2 separate regions of the Homo sapiens genome follow, and region 2 is linked to region 1. The links are contacts of gene promoters, found by promoter capture Hi-C in human tissues and cell types (Jung and others, 2019). All regions are on one chromosome and are shown on one strand. The core of a region is centred on a gene start or on the middle of the fragment in contact, and the rest is flanking DNA. Distances in the headings are between cores, read along the strand shown. Region 1 holds the start of STX12 (syntaxin 12). Region 2 overlaps ARID1A (AT-rich interaction domain 1A).

The links. Contacts are between HindIII fragments. The study calls those that stand out against the background at their distance.
Region 2: a fragment that was not itself captured here is called in contact with the fragment with the promoter of STX12 in region 1 in 1 of the 25 tissues and cell types used here (dorsolateral prefrontal cortex).

The regions. Positions count from the first base shown.
Region 1 is chr1:27,770,737-27,774,971 of GRCh38, reverse strand. It overlaps STX12 (syntaxin 12), which reads right to left and starts at 1,753. Exons shown (of 9, transcript NM_177424.3): 1 at 1,547-1,753. The coding sequence starts at 1,664. RefSeq lists enhancers at 916-1,416, 1,614-1,763, 1,417-1,917, 1,884-2,033 and a silencer at 1,294-1,503. The HindIII fragment of the contact is 12,641 bases long and covers 1-4,235 here.
Region 2 is chr1:26,703,521-26,707,306 of GRCh38, reverse strand. All of the region lies in intron 1 of ARID1A (AT-rich interaction domain 1A), which reads right to left. Among named protein-coding and RNA genes, the nearest start is that of ARID1A, 9.4 kb to the right of the region's middle. RefSeq lists a silencer at 3,015-3,309. The HindIII fragment of the contact is 8,241 bases long and covers 1-3,786 here.

The DNA.
Region 1 (4,235 bases), core at 504-3,003:
ACTTCCAGAGTCTCAATCCCTTTTGATCAGAAACTTTCTACTTCTCAAATTCTACAATATACATTTAGATTTAAAAGCAAAGTGAGCCTGGGCAACATAGTGAGACCCCATCCCTACAAAAAATTTAAAAATTAGCCTGGCACGGTAGATGCATCCTTGTAGTCCTTGCTACTCAGCAAGCTGATCAGGAATTCAAGGTTATAGTGAGCTAGGATTGTACCACTTCACTCAGATCACTGCATTCTGCCTGGGTGACAGAAGTAGACTCTGTCTCGAAAAAATAAATTAAAAATATTTTAAATCAAAAAAATTAGGCTAGGCACAGTGGCTCACGCCTGTAATCCCAGCACTTTGGGAGGCTAAAGTGGGAGAAGTGCTTGTGCCCAGGGGTTTGAGACCAGCCTGGCCAACATAGCAAGACTTCATCTCTACAAAAAAGAAAAATTTTTAAAAGTTTAAAAACGAAAGCAAAGTGACACTCTTTAAAATATAGAATATAATTGTAATTCAGGACTAACTAGTTCTACCTATTAACAGAGTACGCCAAGCTCACAAAACAATAATAAACAACAAGGATGATGACCACCATTCTTTCCAAGTAAAGCTGCTGCTGATCTCCTGTTTATAAGGCTCCAAGATGATTTTCAAGCACAAGAAACACCCTGTATTTGACTCATTCAGCTACAGTTTCACTCAGACCCTAATGGGGAGGAGGGAGTTTTAAGACAAGCAATAGCATTCTGAATTCCACCAACAACTCTACCATGCCTTACTTGCTATGTGGTTGTGGCTAAGTGTCTTAGCTTCCCTGTGTACCAGATTTGTTCAAGAGCAGCTAAGTAGGGAAGGAAAACAAAAGCCTCATCTGCCTGAAATCCAAAAATACACCCCAATTATTTGTTACAAAAGACAAAATAATGTAAATTGAAATGCTGTTGGTGAATTCTCTTTATTAAAATGAAGTCATCCCACCTTTCAAATACCAGTCATTGTGTCTGATTTCCGAATTCATTACAGGAAGAACTGTGTATGAAGTCACCCAAACACATGCACTCTCCACTTCCCTTAATTGAAAGTTGCTGATTTCCGAGGAGCCAGGGGCTGAGCAGAATGTAAACCTAAAGGCTAAATCAGTAAACAACCCCATCCAAACTGGTCTAAGAGGAAAGCGAGGTGGGTGGGGAGGAAGGTGGGTGACAGGAGAAACTCGGCTGACCACTGCGCCAAGTCAACGCACTCACAGCTCTCGAGGTGACACACACTCCCCTTCCCACCCTCGGGCTGTCAAGTCGGCTGTTTTGGTCCCAGCACCGTGGGGGCAGAACTCCAGAGAAGCAGCTCAAGCTTCAGCTGGGGCCGGGGACCCTCGGGCAACCCGGGCCTGACAGATTGGGGGATGGCAGCCCACCGCCCCCAGGGTGGACAGCCCGAGACAGCCCCAGGTGTGGCCTCGGCCGTAGCCCCAGCCGGGCCCTGCGTCCCGGCAGCCTCACCCAGGCCTGTCCCCGGGACAGCTCCCGCCCCCCAGCTCGGTACCCCGGCTCACTGGCTTGGCTGATCCGCTGGATGTTGCCGCTGCACGTCTGGATGATGCTGCTGAAGTCCCGGAGCTGGGGCCCCGAGGGCCCCGGGTTCCGGTACATGTCTAAGGGACCGTATGACATGACGAGGAGCTGAGACCTGCTCGCTCTACACCGCTCTCCTACCGGAAGCAGCCGCCAGCCGGGACCCGCAGGCTGACGGAGAAACTGGGAAGAGCAAGGGCGGGGAAGGAGCTAAGGCTGCGTGCGCACTAGCCCCGCCCTCACGCGGCGCGCACGCGTCCTCCCCGCCCCGGTCCAAAGTGCGCAGGCGCCGCTGGGACTGGAGCTGGGACTGGAGCTGGGACTGTAGCTTAGAGACAGGACTCCCCGAGGCTTGGGGATGCAGGGCGGGGAGATGACGTCACCTAGTTGGGGCTGAGATTGGATGAGCTTGGGTGGAGGTGTTGTTTCTCGCCAGGGCACAGTGACAAGAGGCAAGAATTTTCGATTTGCATAAAACTGTACCAGATGATCTCAGCCCTTACATCCTATTCTGTTCTGAGAATTCAGGCCCAAATATGGGAGAATTCAACGTTGAAACTCAGACCCGGAACCAAATCGTAACCCGAAATTCCTCTCTACTTCCATCCCCAGGGCTTTGGTAGTGTTTGGGGTTTCCAAACCACTTTCATTTCTCCCTCCACCCCTCTTCTAATCTAAACAATAAAATAATGTTTATTGAGCACATACTATGTGAATCCTCACCGCAATTCACTTGTTCATAAGATTTTTCACAGCAGGGGACGATGCTCTATCTATATTTTTATCATTAGAATAGATAACGGAGAGTCGGTTTTTTAAATGTTGAAGTAAAGTAATTCATCAAAGTAAGCATTATTATTTTCCCTCTTACCGATGAGAAAATTAAGACCAGCGAGGTTAGTTCGCCTTGCTGAAATTTGACTGCAAAACCCAAACGCTAAGCTGACTCTCTCCTCACCTCGCTACTTCTCTAAAATTCATTCTCGTCTAAATCTCTCCCAAATAGCTCGTTCATCTATATCCCAAGCCGGGATATCTTGGAGAACTAGATTCCTAAAATTTAAAAATCGTTCCCTTAAGTAATTTGGAATGCATGACCTCAATGTTCCCACAGAAAACTGCATTTTTGTAAGCCTATGTTAAAAGGAAAGACATAGGATTTTGGTTTGGGAGGAGATCAAGATAGTGAGAAGTGAAGGGGAACTGGCTGCGTTTCCTGTGTTCTACACCCCACCCCACCCCACCCCAGCCTGCTTTGTAGTCTTTGGAAAATGCAAAGACAGAAAGCTGCTTGCCTGGATGAAAGGAGACCCAAAGTGAATGAGCCTGTATATGGCCTTAGGATTTTTTCTTTATTTTATTTTTTTTGAGACAGGGTCCCGCTCTGTCACGCAGGTTGGAGTGCAGTGGCGCGATCTCTGCTCACTGCATCCTCCTTCTCCTGGGCTCAGGAGGTCCTACCACCTAACCTCTGAGTAGCTAGGATTACAGGCGTGCGCCACCACGCCCAGCTAATTTTTATATTTTTTGTAGTGTTGGGGTTTGGCCATGTTGTCCAGGCTGGTCTCAAACTCCTGGGCTCAAGCAATCCACCCACCAGCCTTAGGATTTTTTAAGGGTGACTATCTCTATTTTTCGTTGGAGAATTTATGAGAGCATTTTTTTTCCCTGTCTCTAGAAAGAGACGGATGACATTTGGGGACTCTTATTTTGGTTATTTTATTTTATTTTATTTTTGAGACAGAATCTTGCTCTGTTGCCCAGGCTGGAGTGCAATGGCGCAATCTCGGCTCAATGCAACCTCCGCCTCCTGGGTTCAAGCGATTCTCCTGCCTCAGCCTCCCGAGTAGCTGGGATTACAGGCGTGTACCACCACGCCCGGGTACTTTTTGTATTTTTAGTAGAGATGGGGTTTGACCATGTTGGCCAGGCTGGTCTCGAACTCCTGACCTCAGGTGATCCACCCGCCTCGGCTTCCCAAAGTGTTGGGATTACAGGCGTGAGCCACCGCACCCAGCCTGTTTTGGTTATTATTATAAAACCTTACCGTTTCTTAGAATCTGTAGTTTTATGTCAAATCTTAAGCAAGTCATGTAAATTGCACTTTTTTACCTATATAATAGTACTGATGATTTTTTTCATTTACATTTGACACTATTTAAAGTGAAGTTCAGTAAAGATATTTTTCTTTTAGGAATTAAAAATATTGTTTTCTTTCTCCATGTAAAATAAAAGTGGTTTTTAGGCTGGGCGCGGTGGCTCACAACTGGAATTCCAGCACTTTGGGAGGCTGAGGCAGGCTGATCATTGCTTGAGCTCAGGAGTTCGAGACCAGCCTGGGCAAAATGGCAAAACCCTATCTCTACCAAAAATACAAAAATTAGCTGGGCATAGTGGCCTGAGCCTGTAGTCCCAGCTACTCGGGAGGCTGAGGCAGGAGTGTAGCTTAAGCCAGGGAGGCAGAGGTTGCAGTGAGCATCTCTCATAGCAGTAAATCTGTGCCTTGCAAATACTGGATGTCAAACAAACATTTATTGAATTAACACATGAATAATAAAAATAATAATTTTATCATTGCTTAAATGCCTGTTAGGTGCCAGGCAGTATGAACACATTTTGTGTACGTTATCAGTAATCTCCAAGATAAAGCCCATCTGATAAAGACCACCT
Region 2 (3,786 bases), core at 107-2,606, 1.1 Mb after region 1:
AACCTGGGAGACGGAGGTTGCAGTGAGCCGAGATCACACCACTGGACTCCAGCCTGGGCGATAGAACAAGACTCCATCTCAAAAAAAAAAAAAAAAAAAAAAAAAATTAGCCAGCCGCGGTGGCGCATGCCTGTAGTCCCAGCTACTCAGGAGACTGAGGCAGGAGAACCCCTTGAACCCAGGAGGCGGAGACTGCAGTGAGCTGAAATTGCCCCACTGCACTGCACTCCAGCCTGGGTGACAGAGCAAGACTCCGTCTAAAAAAAAAAAAAAGTCAGGATCCTGGTGAGGATCTGTGACCCAAGAACAGATAAACTACCTACAGAATTGTTCCCCAAAAGCTTTGTAATATGGTTCTCTTTAGAAGCCTAAATTCCTAAACAAGCACAATGTTAGAAATCTGGAGACTAAAAGCCGGTTATCCAAACCTAAATTACCAAGAGTTTCACATAACGCTAGATCAACCTGTGAACTCCAACACCTTAGGACCAGAACAGAATGTTGTCCAAAGGGCAAGAGAAAAAGACATACATATTTGCCAAAGAGACACAGTAATAAACCAATTCCCAGCATTTCTGCCCTGTTCTCTAAGGACAACAGAAAGCAACAATGTCTACCCCAGACAGGAGAAATCACTGGGCAAGAAGAGCCCAAAGATATATCTGTTTCTTCCAAAAGGAAGCATCCAACACTATGTGGCCTTTAATCCCTCTACCACGTGGCTGAATTTGCACTTTTCTTAAAGTCAAAGTACACGGCAGTTGAGAGTAAACAGCTGGGCCCAAAGGCACTCATGCCCGGCAAGCACGTTGTGACCTCAAAGAAAACATGAGCAAAATAAAAACACCAAGCACACACCAAATGGGCTTTTAATTGACTGATATCACAACAACCCCCAAGCACCCCTGGTGCTAGATCTTAAGGGGAAAAGAAGGGTTCCTTTTAACAGAGATGCCTATAAACAAGCAAGCTGAAAACGAACAAGTTTAAGAGAGAAAAGCATACAAAAATCTTGGCTGCTAGTGATGAGCCATGGAAAATCATGAATCTGCCAGTGCCAAGGGAGGAGGAAGTCTAATATCTAACTTTGCAGACTTGGGAACATAAAAGCAACAAAGCCATAAGGAAGCCCAAATGCAAAAGAGAGAAAAAAAGGCACATGGCACATTTCCTCTTCATATGGGTAGCAATTCAAGCAGCGCTTTGGGCCTGCAGAGCACTTAGCTCAGTACCCAAAGCCCCTTAGTATTTATATCAACATAACTTCCTGGAGGGTGACAAAAATCTGTCCTGGATTACTGGGTGATTTCTAATATGTACCATGACCAACACTAAGTCAACATTTTAGGGATCAAATTTCCTACTCTGCAGCATGTTGGAATGCATTCTTGGCATTAGACTTCTTCCCATTCCAGTCCACCCTTAGAAAATGCAGAAGCCACTGGGAAATAGACTCAACCTGTCCCAAGATAATATTCCAGCTATGCACAAGTGACTAACAAAAACAAACAGAAGTTCATTCAGATGTCCCTTCACATTCAGTAAAAAACTAATTTCATCCATTTAAATGGAGAGGAGGGGTAATTTCAGGAAGAATACTCAAGGCTACTAAGTCAATATTCACCCGAACTTGGATTCCTCTAAAACCTGGGAATGATCAGAGTTCAAGCCCCTAAACACCTGTAATCCATAGGAGGTTAACTATGGTGCCCAATTCTGAGTAACTGAAAACCCACTTTTGCAAAATGCCAAAATGGCAAGGCAAAAAAAGTGGAAAAGGTATTTCTAAACCAGAATGTTTATCCAAGACTCCAGTACTTTCAGCAGGTCATGGACCATTACTTGAGGGGGGGGGAAAAAAAAAAAAGGCTGGGCGTGGTGGCTCACACCTGTAATTCCAGCACTTTGGAAGGCCAAGGTGGGTGGATCACACCCGAGGTTGGGAGTTCAAGACCAGCCTGGCCAACATGATGAAACCCCACCTCTACTAAAAATACAAAAATTAGCCGGGCATGGTGGTGGAAGCCTATAATCCCAGCTACTCAGGAGGCTGAGGCATGAGAATCGCTTGAACCTGGGAGGCAGAGGTTGCAATGAGCCAGATTGCACCACTGTACTCCAGTCTGGGTGACAAAGTAAGACTCCATCTCAAAAAAAAAAAAAGGTCTGCAGTACTTCTGTACTGGAGCAGTGTAACCAATCCTTCTCCAGGTAGAAGCATTACAGTGGCCTGGCACTGGACATGCCATGCATCTTCAGCTGTTAAGCATCCACTGATGATCCTTGACCGGTGAAGTGCCAAGGCCCAACCACAGATCGACCAGCAGGTAAAGAAACCAAAATCACTATATTCCAGAGGCTCCACAAGGATTAAGCATTGGTGAGCAGCATTTGTTAGCTGCTTGGCCATAGTAACCTAATAAAAAACAAATTTTTTTTTTTTTTTTGAGACAAGGTCTTGGCTCCATTGCCCAGGCTGGAGTGCACTGGCGTAATCATGGCTTACAACAGCCTCAACCTCCTGGGCTCAAGCAATCCTCCTGCCTCAGCTTTCTAAGTAAACTGCGACTACAGGCACGTACCACCACATCCAGCAATTTTTGTGTCTTGTAAAGATGGGGTCTCCCTATGTTAATAGCCTGGTCCCAAGGCTGGTCCTGGGCTTGGGCAATCCTCCCACCTTGGCCTCCCAAAGTGCTGGGATTATAGGTGTGAGCTACCGCGCCCGGCCAAAAACAGTATTAAAGGCCATTTCTATGAATAAATGGGCAGACTGCATATGTGCAGGCTTACCTAACCCATCAACCTCAATATAAGGTCTAACACAAGCAACTTGACTTGAACACAGCTCCCAGCTCCTCAGAAATAGCAGCCTAAGAGTCCCAACAGATACTTACTTCGTGGCTCTTGTTTTAAGAAAGGTCAACTAACTCTGCCAAGACAGACTCACCAACAAAGTTGAACCACCATTACTACAGAGCTGTCCAGGGCACACAACTCTGAAGGTGACATGACCTTCCAAATCCAAATTTACTAGAAAAGTGCCCCTGAACTAGCCAAGAACTTAACAGTCTGTACCAAAGGCTCTACCTGACCACAAGAACCACTAAGACCCTGGAACCACTCTTTCAGGGAGTTTTATGGTTAGAGTCCAAATTCTCAAAGTCATTGGAACACTGAGACAGCTACTGGTCTGGAGATGGATGTGCAATGTGGATTCTATCAAGCCCATGGAACTTAAGAATAGCATTATGAAAAGGCAAATTAGTATTCTAAGTTTCTTGAACATTTAGCTTCACAAAAAAAGCCTCTGAAAAGCTGTCCCAGGTTAACCCTGCCAAACTGATTGAACCTTTTCCTCTAATTCCTTCAGCTCACATAATTAGTGTGGTCTACATCCATTTATGAAACCTTGCTTTTCAAGTTTTCCAGATGTGTGCACATAAGCATGCTTTCCTAAGAAAACTAAATGCCTCTGAAGGAGATATTGTTTCTACCTTTTAAATCTCTTCCTAGTACCTAGCTGGTGTAATCACATAGGGCTATTTCCCATCCCCATTGGAATTTCCTGATCTCTCTGACTTAGAAACTATGCTCTCAGCAATAAGTCTGAAGTTCCTAATACCCTCACTACCAACATACTGGGAAAGGACCATGCAATATTAAGCAACCTATGTCAGTGCCAATCCAAGTTTTTGTGTTTTGTATTAAAACAAGCTGATAGCCTTTGGTAGTAAGTTAGCTGAACCTAAAAATCATAGTCAGGACCATAATTACATTCATATT